Regions from separate parts of the Homo sapiens genome. Here region 1 is linked to region 2. The links are contacts of gene promoters, found by promoter capture Hi-C in blood cells and fetal thymus (Javierre and others, 2016). All regions are on one chromosome and are shown on one strand. The core of a region is centred on a gene start or on the middle of the fragment in contact, and the rest is flanking DNA. Distances in the headings are between cores, read along the strand shown. Region 1 overlaps LOC105369322 (a long non-coding RNA gene). Region 2 holds the start of DDB1 (damage specific DNA binding protein 1).

What was found. The method cuts DNA at HindIII sites, captures the fragments that hold promoters and counts their contacts. A CHiCAGO score of 5 or more calls a contact.
Region 1: a contact is called between a fragment that was not itself captured here and the fragment with the promoter of DDB1 in region 2, in 1 of 17 cell types (naive CD4 T cells). The highest score is 5.6, in naive CD4 T cells.

Annotation. Positions count from the first base shown.
Region 1 is chr11:60,816,408-60,821,420 of GRCh38, forward strand. All of the region lies in intron 2 of LOC105369322 (a long non-coding RNA gene), which reads right to left. Among named protein-coding and RNA genes, the nearest start is that of CCDC86, 23 kb to the right of the region's middle. The HindIII fragment of the contact is 4,558 bases long and covers 735-5,013 here.
Region 2 is chr11:61,331,529-61,336,236 of GRCh38, forward strand. DDB1 (damage specific DNA binding protein 1) reads right to left here and starts at 1,577. Exons shown (of 27, transcript NM_001923.5): 1 at 1,380-1,577; 2 at 15-163. The coding sequence starts at 1,440. TKFC (triokinase and FMN cyclase) reads left to right here and starts at 1,700. Exons shown (of 18, transcript NM_015533.4): 1 at 1,700-1,801; 2 at 3,092-3,203. The coding sequence starts at 3,201. RefSeq lists enhancers at 1,139-1,661, 1,662-2,184 and a silencer at 1,580-1,839. The HindIII fragment of the contact is 9,653 bases long and covers 735-4,708 here.

The sequences.
Region 1 (5,013 bases), core at 1,764-4,263, 510 kb before region 2:
AATCCCAAGTAAACACATTAATGGATTCCAATAGTCAAATCTGGAACACAATGTACCTTTGAGTATGCTTGATTTCAACAGTTTGTTCAAATAGTCAAAATCTATATTTTAAAAGTGGAATTCTCATCAAATATTGTCCAAAAAAATAAATGAGTAGAAGTGAGACGGCCAGTCAAGTGTTTTGCCCTGCCGTTTGCCCACTGTGTGTGGCCTTGGGGATGGAGGGGGAGATGTTGGGGAGGTACAATGGGAAGGGAAACTTCTCCTCTCTGGCTATAAGTTCCCACATCTACAAAATGAATAAGCTGAAAGAAAATGAAAATATAACATATACAAATCTGTGGGATGCAGCTAAAGCAGTTCTTTGAGGGACATTGATAGTCTTAGATGTTTTTATTTGAAAACATGAGTAGACTCAAATCAATAAAATAACTTTCCAACTCCTTCCCTTAGAAGACCAGAACAGTCACAGCATCATACAAGCATGACTCCTAACAGGTGGATGCAATCTACCAGTCATTCTAGCCCATCACTCTCATTTTACAGATGGAGAAACTGAGACCTGGGGAAGGCAGCAACTGGCCTATCACACAGAATGTTAGTGGCAGAGCCAGGACTTGAACCTCAGACCTGTTATTGTTTCTCTTGGAGGTCAAAGACTGGGGCTTATCTCCCTGCCTTTATTCCTAGGATGGCACAGGTAGGAGATCCCGAAAACTTGTTATTCTTTGTGAAGCTTGATCAATGAAGAACCTTTAGGTCCCCCCAAACACTGGTCCATGTCCTCACACTGGACATGTGGCACTCACATGGCAGTTTCTCCTGGCAGTGCTCAGCTGTGTCCTGACACCCTTCTGGATCCTCCATCCCATTGATTAATCATCTTTGGGGACTAATTTCCTTAGACTATGTCCTTGGTTAGCCAACCTTTTCCTTTTGAAGCTGAATGGGGTCAGTTTCTGTTATTTGTGTTAATTCTGCTAGACTGGGAGACTAGTGGGGATTTTTCTAACTTTGTAATCCTGGCACTTAATATGTGTTGGAATAAAACATCTGTATGGGCGTGGTGGTGCACACCTGTAGTCCCAGTTACCCAGGAGGCTGTGGCGGGAGGATTCCTTCCTTGAGCCTAGGAGTTCAAGTCCAGCCTGGGCAACATAACAAGACTCATCTCTTAAAAAAAAAAATCTGCTAACTTTGCCCTCCTCTCGGCTTGTGTCTGGGGAGGACCCTTAAGGAAAGAGCAGCCACATGGCTGGGGCTGGGCTCAGGCTCCTGCTCCCCAACTTGAATGGGCAGAAAGGAAACAGCAGGAATTTATCCAGCACCTACAGTGGACTGGCCATGACAATACCACCCCCTTTACACAGAAGAGGAAGCTGAGGATCAGAAAGTCGAACGGCTTGTCATAAGGAAGCACACTTACTGGAATTCCAGTGCAGCTGTCGTGCAGCACAATCCGTGGGTAACTCAAGTGAGACCCCGAGCCTTGCCGAAAATGTGGATTATATGGTAATATCGGCAGAGCCCAGGCAGGACCTCAGAAGTATTAGACACAGAAGTCACACATGTTTGGACAATGGATGCTATTTTTCTGTTTAAATTTTTAAAAATTATAGTAGAAATGTATAGTTGATCCCAACCATGAAACTAAGAATGTCAGAATCAGAAATGACTTTGGGGATCATGATCGGGTCTAATGCTTCCATTTCACAGATGAGGAAGTGGGGGCCCGAGATAGGAAAGGACTTGCCAAGGTCACACAGTACCGTTAGTAGAAGCAGCCGGGTCTCCTCCCTCTCCAGACAGTCCTCCATCTACTGGCAGTCTCCTGCCAACTCCTGCTGAATGGTCAGGAATGTTCCCAGTTCCTTCTGCCAACTCTATCACCTGTAGGGGTCTCTATCCCCACAATAGCATCACCCACCAGCTTTTCCTGATGGTTGCTCTACCCCACTGTCATGGCCCAAACAGGTGACAGAGAAGTCTAGAAAAATAACTCCTCCAAAAATATCCAGAAAGAGTTAAGGGAGTAGTGAGAAAGTGGCAACAGGGCTGACCTGCCAGGAGGAGCAGGGCTTTTGCAACGGGCTCCATGAAGCCATGAGCCTGAGGCTCGGGGTGCCTTCCCAGCATGCCAGCCCCACCAATCCACTGCCGAGGTTCAGACATGGCCCTGGACAGATGTCAGGATTAGCAGATACCCACTTACAAAAGAAACACACAGGCTTTTCAGAGAGGTGTACCCATATTTCCACAGAGGACAGGTGGGCATCTCAGACGGCCTCATCTCGAGGACTCATCTCAAGCTGTTTGAGACAGGTCTATAGGACCCAAGGGGTGAGCACAGTTTTAAGCCTCAAGAGGGCCCTAGTCCATTATTTCTGCAGCTGATTTGTGTCTGGCAGGAAAGAAAAAGCTAACATGGATGCAGCCACCTCCACGTGCTGGGAACTGCACGGGCACTTTGCATGTAGTATCCCATTTAATCTCACAAGATCCCATGGAATAGGGATTCCTCTGCCCCCTTTTTGAGATGAGCAAATGAAAGCTCAGGGAGGTTAACGAACCTGCTTGGGTGTGGGGTTGTATCATCAACACAGAGGGCTACGCAGCCAGAAGACCTCACAGGCACCACTGAAACCCACCAGGGCCTGAAGGATGGGAGGGTTTGGATGGGCCAGTATCCTGCAAACTGGCCTGATCGAAAGGGTCACCTGGGGTATGTTAAACGTGGAGATTCCCAGGCCCCTGCCCTAGAGAGTCTGATTCAGAAGGCCAAACGTGAGGCCCAAGTCACTGTATTTTCAGCAAGTGCTCAGATGATTCTTATGATCAAGCAAGATTGGGAAACACCAGGTGGAGAAAGAAGGAAAAGGAATGGGTTGCAGGGCATAGACACGCCTTGTGCAAAGGCTCAGCAATGACCTCAGTGAAGCATGTTTGGAGGGCAGTGAGAGCACAGGTTGAGGCAGAGAAGGAGTGATATCAGGAGAGGTGAAGATGTGTCCAGGCTGCTGGACAGAGAGCCCCATGACCAGGTGAAGGTCAAGAGCTTCAGGCCTTAGGATCCCAGGGACCTCCCAGCTCTCTGTTCCTGGGTTTGCTTAGAATTGGAGGCATGTTTTCGGTTTTTTGTTTTTGTGTTGCTTTTTATTTTTCTTTTAATGTCTCTCACTTTTGCTTAGGGAGGCAGTGGGATGAACACTGGACAGGAGTCAGAAGCCATGGGTTCCAATATAGGCCCGACTATTTACAGTCTGTCTGACCTGAGCCAACTGGAGGGTTGCTCCCAGGCCTCATCACACAGGAGGCTTAGTAATTAAGCACAGGACCATGTGTGAAGACTCCAGGTAAGTGGTAACAAGCCATACAGACAGGTGTAGGCTGTGGAGTTGGTGGTGTTATTAACTAGCCTGGCGGACTAGAAGGGAATGGCCTGGGAGATAAGTGGGGATGTATCGTAAAGCAGGAAAAAAACCCAGGTTTTCTAGCCAGCTGTCTTGGATTTAGATCCCAGCTCCACTATTTATTAACCGTGTCATCCAAGCAAGTTACTTAACCTCTCTGGTCCTCAGTTTGCATAAGAGTGAAATGGAGATTGGGCTTACCACATTATAAATGCATGCTGGTAAGCATGAGGTTGTAGTGGTTGTCACCAGGTCCAAACTTCTTCCCTTACCTCTGTCTCATTAACTCCCTTTTACCTCCATTCCCCACAGCCTTCCAGCCCCAGGTAACAACTTCAGCACGTTTTAATGCATGTTGTGTTACAGGATATTAGTGTACACATATTTAACTTGTGTGTATGGTATTGTTTTGTCTCATTTTGGTTCTTTTTTTCCCCCTCTCAGCCTGTGTCTAAGAGCCACCACGTTGCTCTCTGTGGACATCCTGACCTTTGCTTTTAGCTGCTAAGAATTACACACAATTCATGTTTTACCAATCACTCCTCCTGGTGACGTAGCTTCACTTTTCAGATGGGAAAACTGAGACCCAGGAAATGGGGATCTGCCTGTGAATGTTCTTCCTCATCCTGGGACCCCAGTTGTGTGTGCTGCAGGTGTCTGAAATGTCAAAAGCAAGACCCAGGCTCCAGCTCCCTCCAGGAGACATGAGGCAGCCCAGCCCACAGCCCACCTGCCTTCTGAAGCCAGCTGACAGGGCAGCAGCAATTAGTGAGGCTCCCTCCTTCTGAAAACTCAGGGGTGCCATGGCAGAGCCCAGAGGAGCCATCCTGGTAGGCTGAGACCCTGGGCAATGCCCACCCCAGCAGAGAGAAGCTCTTTTTCCGGGGACAGCCAACCATCTTGGGAGTAAGTGGATCACCCAGTCTCCACAGACCTGTGCAGCCACTGCCAATCCCAACAGTGATGCAGTCAGTAGAATTTATGGGGCCAAGGGTACATACCAGTGGAGGGACTGTGGAGCAGCAGGGAGGCAAGACAGAGCTGCTGGGGTTTTCCTTCCTGGCCTCCAGCCCTGAAAATTAGCAGCAAAGGGCTGGGGCTGCCACTGCCCTGGAAAGCACTGCTTGAATCCAGGATACGAGAGCAAACCTATGTCCCCCTTGCCAGGCCCCAGGAGCTGGGTACCATCGCTCTAAGGCAACTCTGGGGTGAACCGGGAGCTTTCCTTTTCTGATGCCGCACCCCTGCATCAAGGCTCTCCTCATTGTAGCTGATTGGGTCTTGGTCAGTGGTGAGACCAGCACGTGTGGGCAGAAGTCTGTGCCTGTCTCCCGCTGATGTCAATGTGGGCAGCTGAGCAGAGAGTATGGGCCCAGCCAGGCACTGGAATCCTAGCTCCTCCGTTCTCTGCATGTGTGGCTCTGGGTCCCAGTTTTGAAAATGAGGTCTCTTTTACCTTGCCGTTGAGCACGAAACGATGGGAGGAGCGGAGCCTGCTGGGAGAAGCTACTCCTCTTGGGTGACAGAGAGGTGGAGTGTTGAGGGTGAGGTCAAAGTGCTGCTCTCAGGTCAGAGAAGCCTATTTGAGACAAATGATCGCAAA
Region 2 (4,708 bases), core at 327-2,826:
ACTGCAACACTTACCTTGGGCCTGAAAAGCTCCATGACCGCAATCTTCCCATACATGCCCACCTCTTTGACGGGCCGAAGCCCCTCGGCGGTGACCACATAGATCTCTAATCTCGTGTTTTTGGCAATCAACAGGTTTAAGTCTTCGGCCGAAGTAAAGTGTCCTGAAAGAACAGACCCTCTAACTTTTGAACTCAGGGGAAGGGCCTCCCATCCCTTCAAAATAATCCTATCACTTATGTCTAAATACCTCCAGAATTCTCATTTACTTCACATACTTCTCCAACTCCCTCCAGCTACTCCCCTTCTTGCCAAATCCGGCACCTCAAAGAGTCTCAGTTCATGCATTCAACAAAGCTACTTCCCTAATCAGACTAAGAAAACTGGACTGGACCTAAGAGCCGTGTGTCCTCCAAATGACAATGACTGCGTAATCCCTTCTCATGCCTCTTGCCCCTCCAATTTTACTCTATTACAGTTACAGTGGCAGGCTCTAATTGAGAATGCCGGAGAAAGTGTTCACTTCTTCCAGTCTTCATCTAAAGTCTCACAAAACTTTTATCTGACAGACCAAGTCAAATGAAGAAGTCCCAGAGCTTTATATGAAAACACTGTTTTGTCCACACCCCCTGCCCTCCTGGCAGTCTACCAATACCTCCATCCACACTCAGCTACCTCCAACTCTGAACAACAGTTTTGTTTTGGAATCATGATTAGGGTGTATATAAACATGCAAGCTTGGGGTCTGCATATTCAGCTGAGAATGTGGGTTAAGATGACTCTTCCCGGGTTCTGAACATCGGTGTCCTTAACAATCCAAGCGCATCGTCAACAAGGCAAACCCAGCACTGGGCCAGGCAAACCAAACCCTCTTCTCCAGCAGGGCCCTCATGTAAACAACAGCCCCAGGCAAAGGGGTTAGCCTGAAGAGGGCTCCTCTCCCTCTGTGGGATAATGCGGGCATTCCTCACATCCCTCCACCTCCTGGGCCCCCCAGACTTCCCCACAGGAAAATCTTGACCCCAAAGTCGTCATTACCACCTCCCCTTTTCCTGGCCACAGAAAGCCAATCTCCGGGCCCAAACGACACCGCACAACCAACTCACACTCCTCTGTCTCACTGGGCCCGCCCTGTTCTCGAGGCCGAATGACCTCCCCAGGACGAAAGGGGACCCTCGAGAGCGGCTTCCAACCCCCAAAAAGCGCGTACAGGGACGACTCTTTCGAGGTCGCGGTGCTGGGGGAGGTTCCTCGGCCGCCAGCGCCTTCCATTCGCCGGGCCCACTCCTGCCCGGCCGCCCCCGGGGCGGCGGGCCTCCCTAGGCCGCGGCTCCCCCCAACTCCCTCACTCGCCGGGGTCTCCGGCCCCGGCAGCCTCACCGGTCACGCAGCCGTTCACGGCGGTGGGCTTCTGGGCCGTTACCACGTAGTTGTACGACATGTCGAGGCTTGGAGCGGCCCGTCGGGACTCGAGCGCGACACTAGAAAGAGGGACACAAGCGAAAAGACAGGTGGCCCCCAACAGCGCGCAGCGAACTCCACTGCCGCTGCCTCCGCCCCAGAGACACGTTGCAGGCCAGAGCGGCCGGGGCGCGGGGCATCACGGGACGGCCTCACCTGGCCTCTTGGAGGACTCCCGAAGCCCGAGGCCGCCAACCGAAGGAGGCCCCGCCCCCGGAGGCACCGCCTCGCCTCTTTCCGCCAGCGCCCGCAGGACCCGGATGAGAGCGCACGCTTCGGGGTCTCCGGGAAGTCGCGGCGCCTTCGGATGTGGCGGATGCGGCCGTGAGCCGGCGGGGGAGGTGCGCCAGTGTCCTCCGAGCTCGCCCGCAGACTCCCCACCCCGTTCCGCGCCCTTTGCCCTTCCCCGCATCCAGTCCTCCTTCCGTTGCTCCAGGAGCCCTCGGGCTGTTCCTCCTTTGGGAACGGGAAGGACTGCGGAGGCATAGAGAGGGAAGGGAGACCGCGATTCGTGCATATCCCAGACTAGAACCTTGCCTGCTTTCCTTTCACTGTCTCAGTTCCTCCAGATCCAGCTGGTGCCCTCGCCTGACGTTTGAACGACCACCTGCTCACCTCCTCCCTTTTGCGCGTTGATTCTTCAGACTTCAAAGGGCCCACCGGTCTGCTTGCCCAACGTTATTAGTGCCCCTATTGCTCTACAAATTCGAACCTCAAACACAAAACCAGTATTTCTCCGTAGGGAACCTTAATGAGCCAGGAGAGCCGTCAGCCCTGCAGCCTCCAGGGTACCCCACATCAAACAGGCTCCCCGGGAACAAGAGGAATACCACGTGGCTTGGCACACTCGCAGAATGCCAGAGAGGAGCCAACCCCCATTTTACAGATGAGGAAGCTGAGGCTTAGGGAGGAATTGGTTTACCTAAGACCCTCCCCACAACCCCAAGTAGGCTGAGGCAGAGCTATGTTGATTCTTCCTATTGTGCACCCACACAGAGGCCAACACGCTGCTGAACCAGGCTGAACTGAGGAAAAGCTAGAAAGTCATCGTGGTTTACATCTTGCCTTTCCCATAGCAGAGACTCTGCCTGACTTTGGAGGCACTGAATTATCAGTAGTAAAAACACACTCTGTAGAAAAACTAGACATTGGTTTAGATTCTGGCTGTTACCTGTATTACCTTGGACAAGTCCCTAGAGCTCTCTGAGTCTGTTTCCCAGAAGTAAAATGGGTCACAAACCTGGCTAGCTCCCCCCATTCCCTTCCCTTTTGGTGCCAAGGCCAGTGAGGGCAAGCGTGTGACGAGCTTTGTTAACTTTTTCGCTGCATGTGATGCCCGTGTAAAAGATAGTTATTCTGAGGATCACTGTCCTTTAGTGATGAAGTGGGTGCTGTTCCTGGACATAAAGGCAGACCTGTGCTTGACATGGATTGATCTGTCTTCTGGCAGTGAAGTGCAGGCATGAACCTTGGTCAGCCCCACACTCTTCTCCATCCGTAGCCCATGTACTAGAGTTTGGACTTGGACCGAAGTCTGGGGCAGCTCCCTAATTACTAGGGTGCTGAAGGCGTGATTGTGCCAGTCGACTGCGAGTTCCTTCCGCAGCTTGTATCGTTACCCACTCCTGCAGGTGCTGCTGCTGCCTCCACTGTACTCAGACCCAGGTAGCACAGGATTGTCCATCCTCCAGCAGCTCAGTGCAACGGTGTGAACTCAGCCTGTTTCAGAGCCTCCACACCATGGTGAGTCATACAGGGCCGGGACGGGAATGGCAGCATGGTCTCAAAGCAGGATCCCAGCCTTGGGCAAGCTAAAGCTCCTTACACTTTGACTGAGAGATGCTATTGCCTCCTGAGGCTCACGGGTGAAGAGAGAGGGTCATCCTCTCTCCCAGGGTCTGATCCCTGCTTTTCTTTGTTTCCTGGAGGCTGCTGGTCCCAGCCAGGCCTGGGGCTGCAGCCTCTTGAGTCCCTTCAGAGCCACTCTGCCCCTTATCTGGGTCTTGCATTCAGAGTAAAACAGTAACAGTTACCTGCTCTGTAATAGACATTGTACCGGTCACAGAAGGAATCGTGAAGAATGACCATGTGACCGTTCCTAACCTTGGGGCTTATGTGGGCCGGTCTGGAGCTGGGATCTACAGTGTGGGAGGCTGGCCATGTCCCTGGGCTTTGCTCCAGGCCCACTGATTTGAACCAAAACAAGCCTTGAACATATCTGGATTCAAATTTCAGCCTGCCACTGACCAGCTGCATGACCTTTTACAGACCTCTCTGCGCCTCTTTTTCTTCATCTGCATTATAAGGCAAATTAAGGCCTACCTCCAGTGGTTGTGTGGTGTTGATCAAGCAGAGTCCTGGAGGCCTCACTTGACTTCCTTTCCTTTTCCATCCTTTCAGGCCACTGAAACCAGGGATAGCACTGGTCCCTAAACCCTCTTCTGGCTCTGTAAAAGACAGATTATCATGATGGGGAGCAGGCCACTTTCTTGGAGGGTAGTGCTGCTGGAGGCTGGGCTTGGAGTGAGGCCAACTCACAACTTCATTGTGTGTTCCAGTCCCTGGTAGGCTCTGAGAGCCACAAACCCATGTCCTTTCTAGGGCAACCTCTGTCACCCTCCACTTCCCTCCAGCCCCTCGAGAAAGCAGCATGATATGGCCAAAAGGGAACCAGCTTTGGAGCCAGGCAGACCTGGACACCTGCTGGCTGTGTGACCTTGGGCAAAATAGTTTAACTGTGCCTCAGTTTCCTCACTGGGCTCATCTTTCCTCCATAGGGCTGTTGGGAAGTTTTGTTTTGTTTTAGTTTGGGTTTTTTTTTTTGAGACGGAGTTTTGCTCTTTTTGCCCAGGCTGGAGTGCAATGGCGCAATCTCGGCTCACCACAACCTCCGCCTCCCAGGTTCAAGCAATTCTCCTGCCTCAGCCTCCCGAGTAGCTGGAATTACAGGCATGTGCCACCACGCCCAGCTAATTTTGTATTTTTAGTAGAAATGGGGTTTCTCCATGTTGATCAGGCTAGTCTCGAACTCCCAACCTCAGGTGATCCACCCGCCTTGGCCTCCCAAAGTTCTGGGATTATAGGCATGAGCTACCACACCCGGCCTGTTGGGAAGATTAAATGAGACATGCTCAAAAACACTTAGAACTGGGCCTGGCTCTTAGTCACTGCTCAGCAAATGGAACCAATCTTATTGTTCTTCTTGCTCCCTACAGACCTAGGCTACTCTGAAGCAGGTGGCTTAGCCC